2 separate regions of the Homo sapiens genome follow, and region 2 is linked to region 1. Evidence: promoter capture Hi-C in human tissues and cell types (Jung and others, 2019). All regions are on one chromosome and are shown on one strand. Each heading gives the region's core, a stretch centred on a gene start or on the middle of the fragment in contact. The rest is flanking DNA. Distances are from core to core; before and after follow the strand shown.

Evidence for each region. The method cuts DNA at HindIII sites, captures the fragments that hold promoters and counts their contacts. A contact is called where the count stands out against the background at its distance.
Region 2: a fragment that was not itself captured here is called in contact with the fragment with the promoter of ONECUT1 in region 1 in 2 of the 25 tissues and cell types used here (dorsolateral prefrontal cortex and lymphoblastoid cells).

Annotation. Positions count from the first base shown.
Region 1 is chr15:52,786,448-52,792,739 of GRCh38, reverse strand. ONECUT1 (one cut homeobox 1) reads left to right here and starts at 2,404. Exons shown (of 2, transcript NM_004498.4): 1 at 2,404-3,960. The coding sequence starts at 2,856. LOC105370824 (a long non-coding RNA gene) reads right to left here and starts at 2,310. Exons shown (of 2, transcript XR_001751550.2): 1 at 51-2,310. RefSeq lists enhancers at 581-1,348, 1,349-2,117, 2,114-2,408 and a silencer at 2,297-2,366. The HindIII fragment of the contact is 12,558 bases long and covers 1-6,292 here.
Region 2 is chr15:52,856,794-52,863,085 of GRCh38, reverse strand. All of the region lies in intron 1 of LOC107983981 (a long non-coding RNA gene), which reads right to left. Among named protein-coding and RNA genes, the nearest start is that of ONECUT1, 70 kb to the right of the region's middle. The HindIII fragment of the contact is 4,821 bases long and covers 1,414-6,234 here.

The DNA.
Region 1 (6,292 bases), core at 1,155-3,654:
AGCCCCCCTTTTCATAAATGCCCTTGGGGGAGAGGGGAAGTTGAGCTCACCTGATGCCAGCCTTATTCAGGTGGACTCCAGAGGCTCAGCTGAGTGCCTCTCATGAAGGAGGGTTTCCAAGATCAAGTTCCTAATTAGCTACACAAAGAGAAAACCATGAACAATTTGTGCACTTGGTGGTATTTACTTCTTTCTTTCTTTTAACAAACTGCCTTTTGGGAAGATAGTTGTCATAAGGGCAAATCAATCACTTCAGCGGGATTAAAATATTGGGGCGGGGGCGGGGGGACAACTGTTTAGCTGAAAGACTCCCTGCTACTTTAACCCATTGTTTGGTCTCATGCTGTAGGAAATGAGAATGGAAACAATTAAAAACCAAAGATGCAGCTTTCCACCAAGGTACTGTAATATACTAGGCAGGAAATATATGTTTTGTGCTTGTGTGTATGCGTGTATGAATAGGTAGATATAGATACAAGTTTAAAGAGTTAATCGTGTTTTCTGAGTTCCTTTACATCAGTGTATTTTCCCTAAAATATCTTTTCTTCTCTGGGGGTTCCTAAATTCCTAACTGTTCATTATGAAAGTAGACATGAAATCCATTGAGATGAATTATTTGCAGGGCCTCCATATGCATTGTTTGGACAGGATGGGAGTGCCTCTGGTGATAAAACCAGCTAGATTAACCAGTCCCAGGACATGGCCGCCTTCAAGGAAGTCACGTTGACTGTATCCACTGAACTTGACCTACCTGGATTAGGATGTTGCCCTGGTGGTAGCAGGGACCTGGGCAAAGAGATAGGCCTACTCATGCCTGGGCCGGTGGGAACTTTTCCCAAAGGGTTGGCCAGCCCAAACTTTTGCCTTGGAAACCCAACTACCACCACTACCACAGCCTTGGCCTCTCTAAGGGCTTGGGAGCATTTGCAGTGGAAACACCACGGGTGGGCTGCAGTTCGGTGCCCCAGCAAGCAAACCTACAGTCTGAGTCTGGCCCAGCACAGGCTACACACACTTTATTCCATATCTGAGTCCAGATACCCCGGCTCTGAGAGGCTATTCTCATTGTAACCACCGCTTGCCTGGGGCTGAGGCTCGGCGCTGACCCGGCCATAACTGCCACGGGCTGGACAATGGGCACATCTGTCCTTTCTCTGAGGGATGAAAGCACCTAAGCGGACACGGCTCTGCCTTTTGTTGCGGATTTTTTTTCTTTCTTTTGTAAATGAAAGAAAGCCGCGGCATGTGGCGGCCGGGTGTACGTCTCAAACTGGGGGCCTCCGCACACGTCCCCACCAGGCCCAAAGACCAGGTTCGATTCCAGATTGGAGCGTGACTGTGGGAAGGGCGAAATTACTCCCGAAGCTGAATTGATTTTCAAATCTGGAGGCGTCTCTCGGGGACGCCGGGAAAAGGGCGTCCCTAGGGGCCAAGCGGAGACCCGCGCGCCGGCGTCCACCCTGTCTGCGTCAGTACTTCTGGAAAGCAACCGCCTCCGGGTGCTTTAGCAGGAGGGCCTTGGGAGTAACCGCAGGGACGGCCCGAGCCTCCACGGCCCCACCAGCACCCGGAAGTTAACATGGGTACCCTCCAGGGCACTCCCTCCGCTCTCCCTCGCCCCCCTCCACAGGCCGAGTCATCGGCGAAGCGGACGCACAGCCTTAATTATGAGCTGAGCGGGAGAAGGAGCCAGGCGGCGGGGGACAGTGAGGTATGGCCCGAACTGGGATTCTTGGCACTGATTACTCCTCTCCCCAGGGCATGGATGAGAAAGGGTGGGCAAGTATGTATCTGGGAGGACGAAGGGTGCCGGGTCAACGGCCGCCAAACGGACCCAGCCCTTTAAGCAATCTGCACCCCACCCCACCCCAACCCCCATCCCCCAATAGGCCGTGAATTCAAGGGTGGGAAAGCGCACTCCCAGCAGCCCCCCGGGAAATAAAGCTTAGTGGGCTAGAGCCGAAGGGGTGATGACACAGTCCCCAGCTCCCCGGGCAAGCTGCACCGGGAAGCAGCAACTGGAGAGAGAGGGGCGATGTCTCCAAGCACAGCACTCCAGCCGCTAGAAGCCCGACACGAGCGTCCCCGGGCTGGGAGGACAGAGCCCACTCAAGCAAGGGAGGCGAGCGAGCCAGGCGCGAGTCTCCTGGGATTGCAGCGGCGGCCCCAGGTCGCGCTCTGCGCCAATCTTTCGCACGTGCCCGCAGCTCCCTGGCCATCCAGCGCCGCAGGGAAGGCGCTGGGCCCCCTCCTTCATTTGTACCGGGACGCCAAGGGCCTGGCGCGCCGCGACCTAGGGGGCGGGGGCGGGCCTCGCGCATGCGCGCTGCGCCTGGCGGGCGTGAGGGCGGGCCGCTGCGGCGGCGGCGGCGGCGGCTACCGAACCGCGGCCACAGAGTCTGTAACAGTAACAGAGCCATGGCTCAAGCTGGCCAGCGGGGCGGGCAGGCAGCAGACGCGGCAGGCGCGCGGGCCGCGGCAGGGGAGCCGGAGACCTCAGAATTTTAAGAAAGAGAGGGGCGAGAGGTGGCCGAGGCGGGCGGGCTGGGGCACTGCGCTCTCCCAACGGCGCGGATCCTCTTTGGAAATTAATATTAAAAAAAAAAAAGCCGAGGACGCAGAGGGGAAGGTGGGGGGTAAGAGGGAAGGCGAGACACACACACACACACACACGCACACGCACACACGGACACACACACACGGAGAGAGAGAGAGAGAGAGACAGAGCCCCACAGTGAGAGGAAGGAAGGCAACAGTCGCCAGCAGCCGATGTGAAGACCGGACTCCGTGCGCCCCTCGCCGCCTCTGCCTGGCCACATCGATGTTGTGTCCGCCGCCTGCTCGCCCGGATCACGATGAACGCGCAGCTGACCATGGAAGCGATCGGCGAGCTGCACGGGGTGAGCCATGAGCCGGTGCCCGCCCCTGCCGACCTGCTGGGCGGCAGCCCCCACGCGCGCAGCTCCGTGGCGCACCGCGGCAGCCACCTGCCCCCCGCGCACCCGCGCTCCATGGGCATGGCGTCCCTGCTGGACGGCGGCAGCGGCGGCGGAGATTACCACCACCACCACCGGGCCCCTGAGCACAGCCTGGCCGGCCCCCTGCATCCCACCATGACCATGGCCTGCGAGACTCCCCCAGGTATGAGCATGCCCACCACCTACACCACCTTGACCCCTCTGCAGCCGCTGCCTCCCATCTCCACAGTCTCGGACAAGTTCCCCCACCATCACCACCACCACCATCACCACCACCACCCGCACCACCACCAGCGCCTGGCGGGCAACGTGAGCGGTAGCTTCACGCTCATGCGGGATGAGCGCGGGCTGGCCTCCATGAATAACCTCTATACCCCCTACCACAAGGACGTGGCCGGCATGGGCCAGAGCCTCTCGCCCCTCTCCAGCTCCGGTCTGGGCAGCATCCACAACTCCCAGCAAGGGCTCCCCCACTATGCCCACCCGGGGGCCGCCATGCCCACCGACAAGATGCTCACCCCCAACGGCTTCGAAGCCCACCACCCGGCCATGCTCGGCCGCCACGGGGAGCAGCACCTCACGCCCACCTCGGCCGGCATGGTGCCCATCAACGGCCTTCCTCCGCACCATCCCCACGCCCACCTGAACGCCCAGGGCCACGGGCAACTCCTGGGCACAGCCCGGGAGCCCAACCCTTCGGTGACCGGCGCGCAGGTCAGCAATGGAAGTAATTCAGGGCAGATGGAAGAGATCAATACCAAAGAGGTGGCGCAGCGTATCACCACCGAGCTCAAGCGCTACAGCATCCCACAGGCCATCTTCGCGCAGAGGGTGCTCTGCCGCTCCCAGGGGACCCTCTCGGACCTGCTGCGCAACCCCAAACCCTGGAGCAAACTCAAATCCGGCCGGGAGACCTTCCGGAGGATGTGGAAGTGGCTGCAGGAGCCGGAGTTCCAGCGCATGTCCGCGCTCCGCTTAGCAGGTGAGCCGGCCAAGGAGCTGGGCGCGCGGGAGATAAGGTACACGAAAGCCGAAGGGACCAAAGGAGGAAGGGTAGGAGAGAGGGCTGGGTGCGCTTCATCCCGCCCGCCCCTACCCCTAGAAGGGGGACTCCCTGTGCCTGGAAGGGCCAGCACAGGGCTGTGGGAGCAAATTGCCTACTCCAGGGCTCAGGGTGTTGGGCTGTGGAAGGCTCCGAGAGCTAAGCGGCCGGGCCTCGGCGACTGAAGAGGCTCATTTGCGCTCAGGGACAGCGAGGGAAGCTCGTACGGCCTGAGGCGGAGAGAAATCCCCGCACCTGGTGAGACACTCTGCGCCACCTCTCAGTTCAGCGATCCGGGTTTGGGAAGAGGGATGCAACGCGTGCGTGGAATCGCACGCAAATGTTCCTCGCAGGTACCTCTGACACATCCCAGGCGCTGGGCTGGAGCGTGCCGGAGCAGCGTCGATGTTTGGCCGAACTGGCTGCTGTGACCCCCTCCCGCGCTCATTCTTTTGGCGCTGGCTGGGGTGACCTCAATCTAAGAGTATGGGCAAAAAGTTTCAGAGCCATTGGGCGGTGGGTGTGTAGCACAGACGAGTTGTAAGGGTTAGGACGCTCTCTGCGCATGGAATTGGCTGTGGAAAGGAGAGGGAGGCTGACCGTCCCAAGGTCCCAGTGAGAGCTGCAAAGCAATAGCCATGTCCTGGGACCGACTCCGCTGCCGACTCCCTGAGGACTTTGCATTTTGTTTTATTATTCCTCTTCGCGATTTTCGTCTGAATCCCCGTGCGGGAGGGGGGTTTGGGGATGAGAGTGTGTAAATGACCCCCAAGTCTAGGAGCAGAGGTCTCCTGCCCGAAACCCCAAGCCCCAGGTGTTTCTGAGTTCAGCTGGAAGCTCTCCTTGGCGCAGCGCAGACACCGCGCCTGGCTCCCCGAGACCGCGGATAGGCAGAGAAGAAAGCTGAGCCCAGCCCGAACCCCACCGGGGATTTCAGGAGGATTCGGCGACCCTTGAGGGTAGAGAACATGAGGGGAGGTAGAGCTAAGGACAGCGGAGGGTGGCCTGGGTTTGATGAGATCCGGCCGGCGGTTGCCAAGTTGATTGACTCCTGGTCCATGCCCCCTCCCCCCCCACTCCCCCACCCCCCACCTCCACCTCCATCTCAGCCCAGCGCCCAGGCCTGAGCCTTGGCGAAGAGAAAAGGTAAAAGCCGGAATGAGGGTTTGTTAATTAACTGATCGTTCTCCATTAATTCGTCCCTGGAGAACGAGAGACAGTCAATCCGCTCTGAGCCGGGGGCACTGAGCCGTTTCACAGTCTAAAATCAAAGCGTGAGGCCAAAGCCCCCTCCTCCAACTCGTGCCTGCCAATGAGAAGCTGGGGGTGGCAGGTGCCGACCAGCCTGCGATTCGTGCCCCGAAGCGACCCAAAGCGTTCTTTGGGTTTGGGCGCTGCAGGCCACCGGTCCCAAAGCACCGCGCTGGCTGAGACTCTGCCCTGCCAGGTTTTCCAGCCCAGCTCTGCCTTCGTTCGCCCCAGGCAAAGTCCTCATGCAGGTTCCTGCAGCCTGCGCCCGGGAACCAGTCAGGGGAGAAGAGGCTCGCTGGGCGCCCCAGCGAATCGCTGGCCCCCGGTTTTCCACTCTCTAGCTCTTGTGCTACCGGCACCATATCTCCACCCGTGGGCTGCCCGCGAGCAACTGAGGTTCCGGAGGGAGTGGGCGAAGGGGCTGCTCCTCGTCCTGACTGCTCCGTCTCTCCAGAGCCCAAGGTAGTGCCTTTTCACACACCCACACCACCCCAGAGCCAGGCTTCAGGGCCTCTTACCCAGGCAGTGCCCGCTGAAGCCAAAGAGTGGAGCGGGGGAATGTGGGAAGAAGATAGAAATGGAGAAGGCTACCCCTCCGGGAAAACTCGGTCCCCATCCCCCACCCCCGCCCCCTGGAGGCTCTTGCTCTGGACTTCAATATCCCTCCTCCCCCCACTGCCTGCTGTCGCCCCCTGGAAGGACAGACTGACACGTTCTGTTCAGAGACGACCTCTGAGCCATGGAAACCTGGCCGCAGGAGCGCCCTCTGACCTCCAAGCGTGGAGAGCTACATAGCCGAGCTCAGGGGACGGCACTGTGGAGGGGGAGGGAGCCTGAGTGCTGGGACCCGCACGCTGGAGGCGCAAACATGGTGCCTGGCAGGTGCTTGTGGCACCCAGGAGGCTATCGAAGGAGCGCCTGCCTGGGCACCCAGCAACCTGTAGAGGTCCATGCAGCCCTCGGCCCTAGGCCCATGGCCTTTTCCTCGAAAAAGTGAAACACTGGAGAGTCCAGCAGGGCA
Region 2 (6,292 bases), core at 2,575-5,074, 69 kb before region 1:
TTCCCTCCGTGCCCCGAATAATTCCAAAGACATCGCTTCTCTCTTCTTTGCCTCCATTCTCCACAACTTGAAAACAGAGTGTTTGTGGAACTCGTGGGTCAAGTGTTTTCAGAGAAAAGGTACTGCACTCAGAGTGTTTGACTTTTATATCTGGAAAAAGCAAAGGGGCAGGAGTGTGGGAAGCCCGTCTGCCGATGGAGGGGTGAGAGTGCCGTCGGCAGCTGGAGCCAGTCAAGAGCCAGGCCCTGGAGAGAGAACAACTTTGGAAAGAGCACTTCTTTCTCCATGTTTTCAAGCCACTCTTATAGGAGCATGCTTTGAAGGGGTCCATTCCATGTTCCAAAACCATGTACAAAATGTTCTGATCTTGATAGAGTATGCAGACTCTGAGAAAAGAGTTCCTGCCAGTGCTCCCGCCGAGATCCTTTGTAAAGGTTTGCAGGTAGCTCAGCCCTGCTAAGGCTCTGTTGACACCAGCAATGCTGGATGCAAAATCACCTGAAAGAACTCTACACTAGAAAACTGATGGAACGATGATTGCTTTATTTCTTCTTGTAGAGCAAGCTGGAAATTACCTCCCTCTGTTGCAAGGGAATCTGGTCTTAGGAGGCAGAAAGCCTATATTTCTTGGCATTGTAGAGGCTCACAAATGTTCTGTTTCACTCTCTTTCATCTCCTGCCACCTCAAAAAGAGCAGAGAAGAGCTCTGAGAGAGGTAAGCTGAACCCCTTTAAAGTATTTCAGCACCAATTTGTGCAAAGGATAGTCCTAGGAGTGATTTTTCTCCAGCCTGAAATATCCTGGGGGCAGCAAAGGGAAGCTGTGAGGGCTTTTGATGCAGAGCCTGAAGACCTGGGGGCATGGCCCTGCCAGGGAGCAGCCCCACTCCACACAGACTTCAGAGGGAGGGAGGGAGGGAGGGAGAAGCCTTGTGTGGAGGCCAAGGCTGGGAAGTGAGCCTGGCTTTCCTCTTTAATCACTACTGCATGATGATGCTCAAAGAATTTACTCATAATAAATGTGAGAGCACCTACGGCAAAGTAAGTCAGCTTGACCATGGGTCCCCCTGAGGCAGATCCAAGACAAGGCACAGGTAGTGTATTTGAGAAATATAGAAAAAACCAGTGGTGAGTGAGGAAGTGAGACAGGGAAGAGAAGGAAGCCACTAGAGGGTCTGCTACCAAGCCAGCTACCACTGTGGACAACTAGGGCTTAAAGCCAGGGAGAACTCTGGGGCACAGTGTAAAACAGGAGCCTCTGGGGTACCCCACCCAAGGGGCAAGTCAGCAATTTATTGACAGCTGCAAGGAGCAGTGTTAATTTCCCCAGTACTGCCACTCTGGCTTCCAAGAGTACTCTCTCAGGCTAAGCTATGCAGACAGTGGCAGCTGGGAGTGGCAGCAGCACCTCAATATGGTGAGTTCCAATAAGCACATACCTGAGTCTGGGTAATTTATAAAGGAAAGATGTTTAATTGACTCACAGTTCCACATGGCTGGGGAGGCCTCAGGAAACTTACAATCATGGTGGAAGGGGAAGCAAACACGTCTTTCTTTACATGATGACTGGAAGGAGAAGAATAAGATCCAAGCAAAGGGAAAACCCCTTATCAAACCATCAGATCTCATGAGAACTTACTTACTATCATGAGAATAGGATGGGGGAAACCACCCCTGTGATTCAATTACCTCCCACCAGGTCCCTCAGACCACATGTGGGGATTATGGAAACTACAAGATGAGATTTGGGTGGGGACACAGCAAAACCATATCACATGGATATGGGTGGCACAGCCACAACATCTACCACTGAGCCTCTCAATAGAAGTTTCCTGTCCTCTTTCCTTGCCCACAATCTTCTCTTTCACATACTTGGAAACAAGAAGCTACCTGGGATGGAGTAGTAACATCTACTACATACACAGTGCCCATTGTCTTTGGAATAGACTTCCTCTGTCTGCGGAAATCCTTACATTGTGAATCCAGCCTCTCCAAAATTAAATGCAAATGCCCAGTCCCCTTGCGGGGAGGACATGGGCCTGCGATTTAGGCTCTGCTAATCAGGCACACAAACGTGACACTGTGTCTTGAAAGTATGTGATATGTGAGGTGCGCTGAGGGGGACACCTCTCGTTCCTGGGGAGAGACATGGCAGAGCCATGCAGATTTTGGTGGTAGAGTTTTTCTGGCAGTTCGGGATAGTATTTCTGACACAAAACTAGCAGCAGGGCTGGTAGCTGCAGCAGGTGCAATAATTGGGGTTTCCCAGCATCTGTTCAACAGCTTCAGGGCTTAACCATCAGGCCAGTTCCTACAGTTTAGTGATCCTCCTAGAAGCCTGCCCCCAAGTGTCTTTCTCCCTGCTTTGAATATCCTTTATATTAATTCCTTTCTTCCTTAAACTAACTACAGTGGACTTTGCTCTTTGCAACTACAACTGTGACCGCACAAGTGGAAAGAATAAATGGGGAAAAGACACTATGAAATGGTGTATTTATAATTATAAAGGAACCCAAAGGAGCCATTTGGTCTCCCCTTTTCCTCAGAAAGAGGTTTAAATGGTAGCTGGGATTTTTTCTTTTTAATTTAACTGTGTGTCTTTGGATCTGTATATGAGTGTTTTTAAATAAATATTGTATATATTCCAATGTGGATGAGATTTTTGTTTTTTCTCCCTTTAAAATTTCACAAAGTTTTGCATATCTCATCTTTTGTGATCTGAGCTATTTATCATTTTATTAAACTGTAACGTTGATGACGTCTCCACACCTTCTGACTGTGCCAGTTGTTTGCTATGATGATATGGTGAGTATGCCAGCCCATACTTCAGTGCCCCAAAGTGGTTTCTCATTGCCCTGTGGATCCAATTTAAACTCCTTATTGCTGAAGCACTGTTTCAATTCCCTTCCTACATTCATCCTCCCATTCCCCAGCCATATATCACAGAGTCTGAGAGGCTTAAAATTACACTTCTCAGGCTCCCTTGCTTAATAAATTATACCCAAAGGACATAAATCTATGGAATCCCTAGTGATACCAGTGCCCCAAATGTTCTCCATCTTAGATCTAGGTAGGACCCTACCGCCACAATGTTTTTAAAAGTTGCTCCTCGTCTCTCTCATTCCAATTTCATTTTTTTTTCTCCTGGACATTTCATAGTCAACTCAAACTCAACCCTCCCTCTATATTTCTTGAATTCTTTGAGTCCACATCAGTATTCCTTAGCTTGCAAGCTTCTTAAGGACAGAGAGGGTATCTAGTTTAATCGCAGTAACCTATTCCCTCCCTTATCCTCACAGTACACATACACGTGCTCCTAGCAAACTGCTTTGGCATACTGTAGATCCTCAAAAAAATTTGTTTGCATATATTTCTAAAGGTAAGTAATCTTCTCTTTGCATTCAGAGCACAATGGATTATGTTCTGAATTCCTTGTTTCCCTGGAGCTCAGAATATCAAAAGTTGCCAGTAAAATAGAAATCCTAAAAAGATAGGCTCTCAGAACCAGAGGCAACTGTGTCCTAAACAAAACCCACGGTTGTCTCCAGAGAGTCAGGCAAACACCCTAGGACAACTCCACTGATTTGCAGAAAGGGTCACAAGATGTTTGAGATGGAAAGGACTCTCAGAGGTCATTTTGCCCAGTCCTTTCAACTGACAAGTGAAAAAACAGGACCAGAGAAGGGAAAGTGACTTGCCCAAGGCAGGCAGATATTTCTTTCCAAGAAGATCCTAGGGCCCCCAACCTCTTTCCACTAAATCCTCCTATGCATGGCCTGGGGCAGTAAACCCCTCTTGGAGGTGTTCGCAAAGCCCCTCTATCCTCTTCAGGGCCATTGAGAATCTCAAAAGGAAACCTAGCAGCAGACTTGCCCCATGCCTGGGTGACCACAGGGATAGCGACCTCACCTCACTGAGCTCTCCCTCAGCACCCCTATATGCTCCCCTTCCCAAAATTAATTCTTTCCAATTCTTCATGTATTACCCCAGAACTTGCGAGTGAAGCCAGGAGGGAAGGGTGCCACTACTGCGTGTCCTCCACACAGATCCCCCCTGCACATAATCTCTGGGTAATGATTCCTTTTGCCAGAAGCCCAGCTCCCAAAATAGTGCGGTACATTGGCGGAGGTCCAGGAGCTAATAGGGACGGCAGCGCTATGTCTTATGACCCATTTTAACTGAGCTAATTTAGAATTTACCTGACCAAGAGTACCATAAAATGTACTCCTAAAGACGAGATTGTTAATTACCACAGGATGATTCGTCTGTGTTTGGCGGCTGAGGGGAGCTGGAGGGGAAAGGCTGGTTTCCAGAAATAATCCTTTCCTCCTCACCAGATAGGAATTAAATGTGGGAAAGGGCAAAAGGGATGGACGGAGAGGTTCGCCCACAGGAACTAAATAGGGTTATAATTAGTTGTGTGTTTGCAGGTGTCATCTTTCACCCTCTGCCTGCGGAGGAGACTGCAGGTAAACTCAGAATTCTTTGCGTCTCTGGGAGAAGGGCACTGAGTTCCTTGGAGTGTTGAAGAGCTGGGAGCAAGATGACTGCTAGGAGCAAAGCAAGTGAAGTCTCTGTGGTGTGGAGAGGCGCCCGATGCAGCAACCCCCGAATATAACACTGTTTACTGACAGCAGCTCCCCGAAGCTATTACAGAGCTGCCTGAGAGCATCCTAATTAGTGAGGGTTGCCAGCACTCCCATTATAATCCCCAGTTGAGTGATCTAAGTATTTATCTCAGCCACTTCAAGTCACAGCCCCTGAAACGTGGCCCTGAGTGGCTGGTCTCAATTTGTTCTTACCCCATGACTTACTCTAACCATCTCCATGTTTCATATTCATCTCCATGTGTATTTAAACAGAGCCATCTCGTATTAAAGGGGATTCCCATGGCTCTGCCATTGCTAGATGTCTGTCATTTTACAAAAATGTTCTCTTTCCAAACATTTCTAAGATATGAGTCATAAGTTAGATTCTAAGCATTTTCTTCCACCGTTTTGTTCTCTGTTTTCTCTCCCGCTGGTTCCACATGCTGGGTCTTGACCTCACCACAATCAAAGCAAGAATTTGTTCCCACTTTTCTTCCATCGTGGATTGTAGTCTTGCATATTAATCAGCCAAACACTGCGTTCTGTGAATTCATCCTAAGCATGCTCTCCTTAATATTCGTAAATTCATGAAACCCTTTTGGAATTTGAACCGTGTGAGATATTTAATCTTCCTGTTATGCCATAAACCTTTTTTGCATGCCATGGTCTGCCTTGATGTGTAGAACAGCCTTAGTAAAAGTAATGGGTGTCTTGCATTCTGAATCGAGAGAGCCTTTTGAAGAACAGGAATAAAACTCAAGCAGGATGAGGCATGCGTAAAAACACCGTACGTGTCGATGGGATGGGTCGTGTGAGCACTGCCTCCCTTTCTCCACAGCCACAATTGTCAGGAGAATTCCAGAGTGATGAGGGGGAGGGTTTGAGGGAGTCTGGCTTTCTTGAAGTACCAAACAATACCCTAGGTAAGTACATCAAATGTAAAGCTTCCCTTAGGCAGTGTGGAGCTGATCTAAGCTTACATCCGACACCAAAACCAGTGGTTTTGTGGATAGAGAAATCTAAAGATTAAAGAAAAAAAAAAAAGAGCCTGCATTGAATCCTTTTTGAGATCCATGTAAAATTAACACTAAAGATACTTGATGTGAGTTTGTCTATTAAACAATGTAAGATCATTAACAATAGTCACATCCAGTCACTTCAATTCAGAGCCATAAACCAACATTTCAAGAAATTTAAGATCATTTTTTCAACTTTGTATTAGGAGAATTTTCACACATATACAAAAAGCAGAGAGAATGTCTGATGAACTTCATGTATCCATCTCCCAGCTTCACCTCTATCAAATATCAACTCTTGGAATTTTTTTTTTTTTTTTTTTTTTTTTTTTTTTTGAGACAGGATCTCACTCTGTCACCCAGGCCAAAGTGCAGTGGCACAATCTCAGCTCATTGCAACCTCCACCTCCTGAATTCAAGCGATTCTTGTGCCTCAGCCTCCTGTGTACCTGGGATCACAGGCATGCACCACCAAACCCAGCTAATTTTTGTATTTTTAGTAGAGATGGGGTTTCGCCATGTTGGCCTCGAATTCCTGGCCTCAAGTGATCCACATGCCTCGGCCTCCCATAGTGCTTGGATTATAGGCATGACCCACCAGAAGTTCAGCCAATTTCTGAAAATCTTATTGCATCTATACCCACAACCTCCTCTAACCACACTCGCTGATTACCCAAGAGCTAAATTG